Regions from separate parts of the Homo sapiens genome. Here region 2 is linked to region 1. Evidence: promoter capture Hi-C in human tissues and cell types (Jung and others, 2019). All regions are on one chromosome and are shown on one strand. Each heading gives the region's core, a stretch centred on a gene start or on the middle of the fragment in contact. The rest is flanking DNA. Distances are from core to core; before and after follow the strand shown.

The links. The method cuts DNA at HindIII sites, captures the fragments that hold promoters and counts their contacts. A contact is called where the count stands out against the background at its distance.
Region 2: a fragment that was not itself captured here is called in contact with the fragment with the promoter of TASP1 in region 1 in 1 of the 25 tissues and cell types used here (mesendoderm cells).

Annotation. Positions count from the first base shown.
Region 1 is chr20:13,635,103-13,640,680 of GRCh38, reverse strand. It overlaps TASP1 (taspase 1), which reads left to right and starts at 1,749. Exons shown (of 14, transcript NM_017714.3): 1 at 1,749-1,787. RefSeq lists a silencer at 1,849-1,998 and enhancers at 2,189-2,278, 1,892-2,392. The HindIII fragment of the contact is 12,335 bases long and covers 1-5,578 here.
Region 2 is chr20:13,271,839-13,277,076 of GRCh38, reverse strand. The region is part of intron 2 of ISM1 (isthmin 1); the gene reads right to left. It also overlaps a transcript of TASP1 not described here. Among named protein-coding and RNA genes, the nearest start is that of ISM1-AS1, 35 kb to the right of the region's middle. The HindIII fragment of the contact is 5,313 bases long and covers 95-5,238 here.

The DNA.
Region 1 (5,578 bases), core at 500-2,999:
CTGCTGGTTCCAGTTAATATTGCTGTGTAAAAATCCACTTTAAAGGTGCAAAAGAACAACTATTTTATTATGCTGATGGATTCTGCGGGTGAGGAATTCAGAAAGGTCACAATGGGGATGGTTTATGTCTGCTTCCTAATGCCTGGGCCAAACTTTCTGGCACTATATAACAAGGGCCCCATTTTCTCCAGCTTCCAATAACATCTTCCTTAGCTCCCTTTAAGCCCTCATTGGCAGCTTCCTCAAGTCCTTTTAGACTCTTGTTAATACTTTGGATCCCTTCCTGCTCTTGCTGCTTCACCTAGTTCCAAAGCCAGTGCCACACGTTTTACTTTTATGATGTTATTATGTTATGTTTTGTTATAATATCCATCCTACTTCTAGGTAACAAAATCGGTTTCAGTTACTATTGCTATGTAATAAACTGTTATTCTTACTATGTAATAAACTTCTTCCCCTTGCCCCTCCCTAAGAAGTCAGTGGTAGAAGAGAAAGAAAAAAAGCCCCAAGTTACATAATAAAACCACATAGGTTATATTTATAATAATGGTATCAGTGGTTCTCGAACTTTTTGGTTTCAGCATACCTTTATACTCCCCAAAATAGTAGAGAACACTCCAAAGCTTTTGTTTCTGTGGGTTACATCTATTAATATTTACTATATTAAAAATTGAATACAAAGCTGAAATGTGGCTGGGTGCGGTGGCTCACGCCAGTAATCCCAGAACTTTGGGAGGCCAAGGCAGTAGGATCACCTGAGGTCAGGAGTTCGAGACCAGCATGGCAAACATGGTGAAAACCCGTCTCTACTAAAAATACAAAAAATTAGTCGGGTGTGTATCGAGCGCCTGTAATCCCAGCTACTCAGGAGTCTGAGGCAGGAGAATCGCTTGAGCCCGGGAGGCAGAGGTTGCAGTGAGCCGAGATCGTGCCATTGCACTCCAGCCTGGTTGACAGAGTGAAACTCCATCTCCAAAAAAAAAAGAAAAAAACCAACAAAAAACTGAAATGTTAAAAAGTTATTTAAAATAACAATAATAAACCATTATGTGTTAATATAATTAAGACATTTTAATGAAGAATAAATATTTTCCAAAAACAAAAAAATGTGGTAAGAAAAGTGTTATCTTTTGCATTAGTGTAAATTCCTCTATAGCTGGCTTAAAGAAGCCAGTTAGATTCTCATTTCTGCCTTTACATTCAGTTCGACGTGATGTTTTGGTGGAAGTATAAGGAAAATCCATCAGTCATGGGTCATCAAAACCCATGACTGGGTTTCGGTCTTACATCCTAGCCGATAAAAGACCGCCTACACTCCTTCCCCCTGGGCAAGGCTCGTGCCCCAACTCCTACAAGCAATGCAGGCTGAACCTTAGTTTTCCCTACCGTCTAACAGTGCTCTAAGGATTGAAAGAAAGTAACTCTTAAGCGACACCTAGATAAAATGATGGTCAGTTTAATTTCATTTCTCATCACAGTATTAGTCAATCAACCACTCAGATATAATCACATCCTGCGGGCTTATTCAGGGGCGGGGTGGGTAGAGATAAGCAATAGCGCATGCGCAGCTCAGAACGAAGCCCCAGGTGGAGTTAGCGCTGCACCTCTGAGGCCAGGTGAGCCGCTCCGAAGCGGAGGGCGGAGTCAGAGCCGCTTGTGGGAGGCTGCTTCCGACCACGTGGTACCCCGAATGACCAATGGGGAGACTTGATGTCAGCCCCGCTTCCTCACCCTGGCAACGGGCGGGTGACTACTTCCGGTGCAGTGAAGGCTCGGGGCTGAAGCGGGTGAGTGTCCCTCTTTCCCACGCTGTCCGCGCCGCTGCCGCCTCCGCGCTGCTGCCTCTGTGTGTGGGCCCCGTACGCTAGCTGGGACGTCCTCTCCGGGTCCGAGAGGGGGCGGCGCGCAGGACACCCCTTGCCCCGGGCGGGGCTAGAGGAGGGGGCCAGGATGTCCCTAGTTCCCTAGTCTTGGTCGCTCTAGGCGGCCCCGTCGTCCCCCTTCCCAGCCTCATCTCCGGCTTGGCGTCCTCGTGGCCACCGGGGAAGTACTGTCTGTATGTGGGGAGTTCTCGCAGTTCTTCACCCACTTTGCAGTCTCAGGCTGGAGATGTCTCAGAGTCCGAGGTTCGCAGACAGCCGAGAATGTGCGCCTTGTCCTGGGTGGCGGGTTGGGGGTAAGGCAGCCCCTTACTTAGTAATAGAGGCCTGATGAGAGTCCTGCGGGTCGTTAGCACTTACTACTCAGGGGGAGGAGGAGGAGGAAGAAGAGGAGGAGGAAAGGACCGAGAAGATGGAGCAGCTGGAGAGGAGGGGGGGAAAGCAGGAGCTAGAGATGTCCTGGAAATCGAGGGTATCGTGTTTCCGGAAGGAGAGAGTTCAACTTTCCTGGCTTCTGTAGGGGAGGGGAAGGAAAGGTGTGTTAGGGGCCATTAGATTGCTGAATTATTATTATTCTTTATTAGCGAAGGAATTTTTACTTATATTCTTAGGAGTTTAATAATTTATCTTTTTTGTTGTAAATAAAACTTTTCCCCACCACTTACAAAAAGCAGTGCTTACTAAGGAACATCTGGAAAATGCAGAAATAGTTATGAAGAGATCACCTATAGTTCTGCCAACCCAGCATTTTGATCTTTTTTCTAATATTTTATTCATATTAACCTATTTGTGATCATAATGTATGCGTGTAAAATACGGTTATAACTAAGAGGCATAGTTACATACATTGTGTTCATTGCACGGATAGATTGTCTTTTTTCCTCTTGAGAAAGTCTTATTAAGGTATTCATGCACCATAAAATTTATTCTTTAAAATTGTAAATTTCAGTGCTTTTTCTCATATCGCAAAGTTGTGCACCCATCACCACTATCTACTTTCAGAACATTTTCATCACCCCCAAAAGAAATCCTATACTCATGACAGTCACTCCCCATTAGATTCTCTGCTTTCTCTCCCAGGCCTTGTAACCACTAATCTACTTTCTGTATCTATGGATTTTCCTATACTGGCATTTCATATAAATGGAATCATAGAATATATGGCCTCACTTGTCTGGTGTCTTTCAGTTAGTATGTTTTCAAGGTTCATCAATGTCTGTGTATCAGTATTTCATTCTGTTTTATGGATGGGTAATGTTCCATTGTGTGAATATGCCACATTTTGCTTAACCATCATCGGTCGATGGACATTTAGGTTGTTTCTACTTTTTGGCTATTTTGAATAATTCTGCTATAAACATCTGTGTACAAGTTTTTGTATGGACATACGTTTTCAGTTCTCTTGAGTATATACCTAGAAGTGGAATTGGTGGGCATATGGTAACTCTATGTTTAACTTTTTGAGTGAGTGCCAAATGTTTTCCAAACTGGTTGCACCATTTTACATTCCCACCAGCAGGTTATAAGGGTTCTGATTTTTTCATATCCTTGGGAGCACTTATCTTTCTTTTTGGTTATAGCAGTCTTAGTGCTTATAAAGTGGTAGCTCATTGTAGTGTTGATTTGCATTTCCCTGATGGCTAATAATGTTGAGCATCTTTTAATGTGCTTATTGACCCTTTGTATATCTTTGGAGAAATGTCCATTTAATTCCTTTGCCCATTTTTAAATTGAATTGTCTTATATTAAAGTTGTATGAGTTCTTTCTATATTCTAAATGTAAGTCCCTTTCCAGATACATGATTTGCAATATTTTCTTGCGTTTTCTCCCATTTTATGGGTTGTCCTTTTACTTTCTTGAATGGTGTCCTTTATCTACTTAGAATTTTTTTTTCAAAGACTTGTCAAGTGCAATAGGGAGGATATTTAGAGTTAATTTTTCTGTATGATGTGAGGTAGGAGTTCAGTTTCATTCTATTGCATGTGGCTATCCAGTTCTAGCATCATTTGATGAAAGGACTGTCCTTTCCTCCATTGAATGGTAGAAACCATTTCAACACTCTTGTTGAAAATCAGTTGATCATAAAAGTGTAGGTTATTGTTTTCTTAACCGTTTTTCTGTATTGGACATTTAGGTTGCTCCCAGATTTTTGTTATTCTAAATTATCCTGTGTTAAACATGGTATAAAAGGCATAAAACCTTTTCTCTATTTAGTTATTTTGGTAGAAAGTTTTCTCAGAAGTGGAATTACTGGTTAGAAGATGAATTTAAGTATGTCCTGGAGTTCATTTAATGAGGCATTAAACCTTCAATATCACGATGTTAAAAGCAACAACACAAGGCTGGGTGTGGTGGCTCACGCCTGTAATCCCAGCACTTTGGGAGGCCCAGGCAGGCGGATCATTTGAGGTCAGGAGTTCAAGACCAGCCTGACCAACATAGTGAAACCCCGTCTCTACTAAAAATACAAAAAAAAAAAAAAAAAAATTAGCCCGGCATGGTGGCCTGCGCCTGTAATTCCAGCTACTCAGGAGGCTGAGACACAAGAATCGCTTGAACCTGGGAGGCAGAGATTGCAGTGAGTTCAGATCATGCCACTGCACTCCAGCCTGGGTGACAGAGTGAGACTCTGTCTCAAAAAAAAAAAAAAAAAAAAAAAGCAACAACACAATTATTTATTCATGAGTTGTAATAGCTTAAGGGCTGGATTTCTATCAAAGCCCTTTGCTGTAAGATGGATGAATTCCATGACTTACTTCCTTTTTCAACTGCTTCTTAAAGAATAAGCAAACCTACGGTGAAAAACTTTAACACCACAGCAACAGGACGTGGTAGTTTTCAAAGTGGTGTAAGAAAAAAAAACAGTGTCATCACATACAGTAGGAAAATAAAACCATCTTTTAGAGAGATGAGGCAAGATTTAGACCTTAAATTAGTGCCATGAAAGTCCCTGCAGAGCGTGTTTTGGTTAGGCCAAGAGTGAGGTGGACCTAGATTGAGCTATCCATAAAACTTGTGGCTATAGGTAAGACAGAAGATAAAGTTAGGAATCATCTGATTTGCTGAGAGGATAGTTTTGAAAGGTTGGCAGTAGATGAAGTTGCTGAAGGTTGGCCGGGAGTGGTGGCTTACACCTGTAATCTCAGCAGTCTGGGAGGCTGAGGTGGGTGGATCACCTGAGGTCAGGAGTTCGAGACCAGCTTGGCCAACATAGTGAATTCCTGTCTCTACTAAAAATACAAAAATTAGCCAGGCATGGGGGTGCGTGCCTTTAGTCCTGGCCACTCAGGAGGCTGAGGCAGGAGAATTGTTTGAACCCGGGAGGCAGAGGTTGCAGTGAGTTGAGGTTGCGCCACTGCACTCCAGCCTAGGCAACAGAGCGAGACTGTGTCTCAAAAAAAAAAAAAAAAAAGAAATTGCTGAAGGAAACATTTGCAGTTGGGGTCAGAGGTGAGTTATGAAGAACTAGGGTAGTAGATTTGTGTGTTGCCAAGGAAAGCAGGTGATCAAGAGAATCAAAGGTTGTAAGCAGAAGATTAAGAAAATGCCATTGGGTTAAGTAACTTGGGAAAGATACAATTTATGGGGAGCAAGACTTTTTTTTCTTTTTTTTCGAACAGCTTAATAAGATCAGTTTACCCATTTAAAATGTACCCAGTGTATCAATTTACCCATTCAAAGTGTACAATTCAGTGGT
Region 2 (5,238 bases), core at 1,502-4,001, 360 kb after region 1:
ACAAATTTACTCCAAAAGCTATATCGATGACTAAATCTCAACACTTAGAGGTTTATTTTTCCCCTTAATTGCTAGCCACTGCCTCAACTGAACTAAAACAAAAACAAAACACAAAACAACAAATCTTAGGATCCACCGCACCCTTCCCTACAGTTAACAAAGTGAAAACCTCATGCTGATATCAAAAGAAGAAATCTAATCTTGAGCCTGAGGTTTCATAGGCATCCAATTAAAAAGACTTAATGAGTGTGATCAATGACTTCTCCAATGGCGAGGGCTCGTTTTATGTTTCCTATTGCTCTCATTCTATTTACATGCTTTTTAGCATCAAAGAATCCGTTGATAAAGATGTCTTGAACAATGATCAATGTGATGAACTGTAGGTGTGGAGTGAGCACAGATTTCCAAACTGACAAAGTCTCTAGATCTTACCGTCCTTTCTCATCCTTAACACACATAATTGAAGTGTCTTAGTATATTTTTTTCTTCTGGACTTTTTCACACTCAAGTCATGATGATAAAAGAAAGGGAACTCTTTCAAAAGCCTCAAGTTCAATTTCTGGCACAATCTCCCCAGCTCCAAGAAAGAGAGTCCAAAAGAAGTGCCCATTTCGATAATTCTGTCTTAGGAAACGAGGAAAAGTTCCAATGCACCTTGATCAGCTTTCCTTCTCTTGAAAATTAATACATTGACTAGAAGCAAACTCTTGATTCTTGCTCGGAAATGCACTTCCCATAGGGAAACCCACACCATTCTCAGTCTAGGTGATAATAAACCAACGCCACTGAGAATACAGAGGCCATGCTCTTCAAACTCAGGAAAGCCTTCTTGCTTGTTGGTCCTCTAAGCCTTGTGAGCTGTGGAAACTGGTGGGAGTGGGCAGGTATTTTCCAGAGAGGAAAAGGATTTCCTCAGGAGCACAGAGCATTGAAGGACCTGTCTCCAACAAGGGTTTTAAATCCAGATTATTCTACCCCTTCTTCCTCGATAACTGCCATGGAAAGAACACAAAATGGACTAGGAAGATATCTAATTCCCTCTTCTCACACCTGCTGATGCTCTAAGAACAAGGGTGGCAACCCCAGCTAACTGTAGTTACTGCTTTGAGACTTGCAGCACGCCAATCTAGGCATTACTGTCCCTTCTACACAACTTAGACTCAATTTTCAGGGACGGAAACTGGCTTGGAGAATTCAAGGTCCCGAGGTAAACAGCAAGGAAGATGTAGTGTTGGTCTCTGAACCAGTTCTTCTGATTCCCAATTAATTTTTTGTACATTTCCTTTGTCATCTTCATCTCCAATATCATCACCAACGAGCATCTATCCGTTCTAGGAAGCTTATCCTATACTGGGCCCTGTGCTAAGCACTTCATATGGATGATCTCATTGAATCCTCACAGATAATCACACTTATATATAGTATTATACTACATAGCTGCTCATATGTAGTATTGTCATTCCAATTTTATAGACAAGGAAACTGAGGCACAAAGACATCCAGTAACCCGCATGGGGCTACGGAGGTCAAGTCTGGCTGACTAAATGGTGGTGCCTGATCCCAAACACAAGCCAATCTGCCTCCATATATTGGCAGCAGTACCCCATGAGAATCTGAGCCGAACAGGCTTGTCTCTATAGGGGCATGGGTCCATGTCTTGGGCAGAGAAATTTCTTGATTCTTATCCAGCCAGACCTGCCATTCCTCTAAAAGTATTTTAGAGAAAAAGGAGGAGGCAAAATCAAAAGTAGAAGCACGTACAACTGTAACCCTGGCCAACTCATCTGATTGTATCTTGTGGCGCTCAAGAGGCCTGTGGCCATGTTAATATGTCTGTGCAAGGAAAAAAAGGCCTTTACATGACTATTTTTAAGTCCGTCTTAATGGGAGAAAAGAAATAAATATATGGGTTGAAATGAATACTAATCTCAACTTGATCCAGAAAAGAGAATATTTTGGTTGTGAATAGCTAGTGTAGTAATGAACCAATGTAGTAAGCCTAACAGTGCATTTATTTCAGAGATTTTTGTCTCTGATATCTGACTATCAGCTGCAGACTGAAAACCCAGCCAAGGATACCAAAGTCTAACTTGTTCTGGGGGATTTACTTTCTTTCCTGAATGATTTTTGTTTTTGATAAAACCCAACCTCTTATATTGTTTTAAATTTCATATGGAGACTCAGTTTAGTAGTCTGAGACCATTTTTGTTCTATTTTGCGCATTTTCTTCCCCTCCTCACTTCCACAGCTTGAAGCCAGTCTTAAAATAGAATTGTCTGATTCACTTGGGACCGAGGCTGCCTGACTTCTGGGAGTTAAAATGCTCTGCAGAAGCAGGTGTTGGGGCTTTTAGAAGGATTTCCTATCCTGAAAGTCAAGAGGCCCGGGGGCCGGGCGCGGGGGGGGCGGGGAGTGGAGAGGGGGCGGGACGTGGACTCTTGCATGGGCTTAGCGATGTCACTTTGGAAAGGTGCAGGCTGTTTCCTTAGCCCTGGAGCGTGGGAAACACTTCCAGAGCCTGAAGGGGTGGGGAGGTGCGGAGGGGAAGGCGGGTATCAAGTTCCCATTCAGCTCCCAGGCTCCAGCTAGGGAGAACCAGATGGGGGCAAAGGCAGGTTGCCAGGGGAAGGGGCAGATGAGGCCAGGAGCCCTGGCAGCGGAAGCTGACCTACTGAAGGGCCCCTCACCTGACTTCACTCTGCTACCCAGGGAGAGGGAATGCTTTGACGGGGCCGGCAGGGACCGTCAGGGACCAGCAGGGCTGTCTGCTGGGCTGAATCGGCCCTGTGTCAAACCAGTGGATTTCAACAAAAGAACAGTGCTCTGAGGAAGGGGTGAGGGCTGCCAACACGGAAACCATCACCTCCTTGTAGAAAGCACCTCATGTTTTAAAGGACCACCAGGGAACTGGTTTACACAAGTGCAGTGGTGCATGGGGCTGCAGCAGCTAGTGCTGTGTGGTGTGTGGGTGTGTTTGTGTGCATGCACATGCACACATACACACACACACACACACAATTACACGCCAACAGAAGGCGGGGGCTCCCAGGGGTAGCAGTTGTTTTATTCTTTCTTTGAACATCTTTCTGAGTGACCAATACTAACATTTTGTGGTCTTCCACAAACAGAAGGCCAGAAACGCACCACAATTTTATTTTCTTCAGGGCCAAAACGTCATCAGATCAATAAAATGCTGGCCACCCTCCACCCCTCTGTATTGCTCACAGAAAATTAACCGATAGGGATTGTATAGAGCAGAAATAGAATAACTTGACTGGGCAGTAGGCAAAAATGTATTGTTGGCTTACTCTTTTTGATTTGTTGACTTTGACAGTAGCTAGGCTGGAGCCGCATTAATTTTTAATCCATTTGGCCAATAACATTCACATCTGGAGCTATGGTAAACCTTTATTCTTGGGAGTTACGGTGATCTTTGCTGTACAAAGGGTAACTGGGGTTCCCAGCTCTGGGAGTCCCAACTGCCTTTCAGCCTTTACGCTATAGCTTTTCCCTAATATTTAAGTAATATTTTTAAAAGACAGGTCAGTTGCAGTGACTCATGTCTATAATCCCCGCATTTTGAGAGGCTGAGGCAGGAAAATTACTTGAGGCCAGGAGTTTGAGACCAGCCTGGGCAACACAGTGAGGCCTGGTCTCTTCAAAAAATAAAAAAGATTAGCTAGGCATGGTGGCTCACACCTGTAGTCCCAGCTACTCAGGAGGCTGAGGTAGGAGGATCACTTGAGCCCAGGAGTTCAAGGCCTCAACAAGCCATGATTGCACAACTGTACCGTAGCATAGGTGACAAAGAAAGACCTTGTCAAAATAAAATAAAATAAAATAAAATAAAATAAAATAAAAAAGACCCAAGTGAGGTCTAGGTAGGGAATGGGAATTTTCAGACAGATGGATTTATCTAGAAGACAGAAAGGGGATCCCAAGAAGTTCTGTCTGAAATTGGGTTCAAGCACAAAGCAGCCAATAACTTTCCAATGAAGGAACAGTCCCCGGCAGCCTTCCGTTCTCCCGCATCCAGGCATTTTCCTATGACTTTGCGTTAGTAATTCTTAAATCAATTACACTGATATTATAGCTCAGTCCTCAGCATTATGCCCCAAGTGACATTCCCACCTCTGGGAAAAAGCGCTAGCCACAGCAGGCTTCAGATTGTTTTGGGCATGGCCTAAACACCCTTGGGATGAGAACTGCCTGATTCTGGAACCAGAACATCTATAAACACATGGATGAGCCATGATAGGAAACAAGGTTGAGCAACGGTATGAAGTCAGTGCCTTCCTTGCCAATCTGCACCTATTCCAAAGGGTTCCATTGCTCTTTATCACACCACGTGGCCAGTCCCTGGAGAGGGGCCATTGGAGCCAAAGGCCTGTTTTTCCAATTTATCAATTAAAACAATACAAGACTCACCAGAAATTTTAACTGGGGCTTGTAGTGATTTCTGTGCATGGGTTGTCAAAGAGTGACCTCCAAAATATTTGTCACTCTGTGCCATCAATAGAGCCTGTCCGACTTCTTTCCACCTATTGAGATCCACCCCCTTGGGACACAGTGCTTTTCCTCCTCTGTCTTCATGATCCCTCCAGCACTGTTTTATGTGGTAGCTGGGATCTTCACACAGATCTAATTTATTGGAGGGAACAGGTCTTACATTTTTCAATTTCCTATAACCTAATGCAGCATTTTATATACAGCGGGGGTTGGTATTCCAAGTGTTCTCAGTGAGATTTGCGTGCTCCCATGATGCTGGTGTTAAGAGCAAAACAACTCAGGTCAACGAAACCTGATCTAAAACCGTATCATGCAGAGGGTGTTAGTCTGTGGAGAGAGAGGCAGTTAATGAAGGATCAATTGGTCTGAGTCCAAGTTCAGGAACTTTCTGCTATGTAAGCAAATTGGCATTTGGTCCAGAGAGGAAAAAGTACAGAAAAGGTGCACCTATACAAATAGAAAGAATTGGAAGCAAAGCTTACAAGTATGGGCTGGCTGTGGTGGCTCATACTTGTAATCCCAGCACTTTGGCAGGCTGAGGCAGGGGGATCGCTTGAGCCCAGGAGTTTGAGCCCAGCCTGAGCGATATGGCAAAACCCTGTTTCTACAAAAAATTAAAAAATGAGCTGGATGTGGGGGCACACACTTGAAGTTCCAGCTACTCGGGAGGCTGAGGTGGGAGGATCGCTTGAGCCTGGGAGGTAGGGGCTGCATGCAGTAAGCTATGAT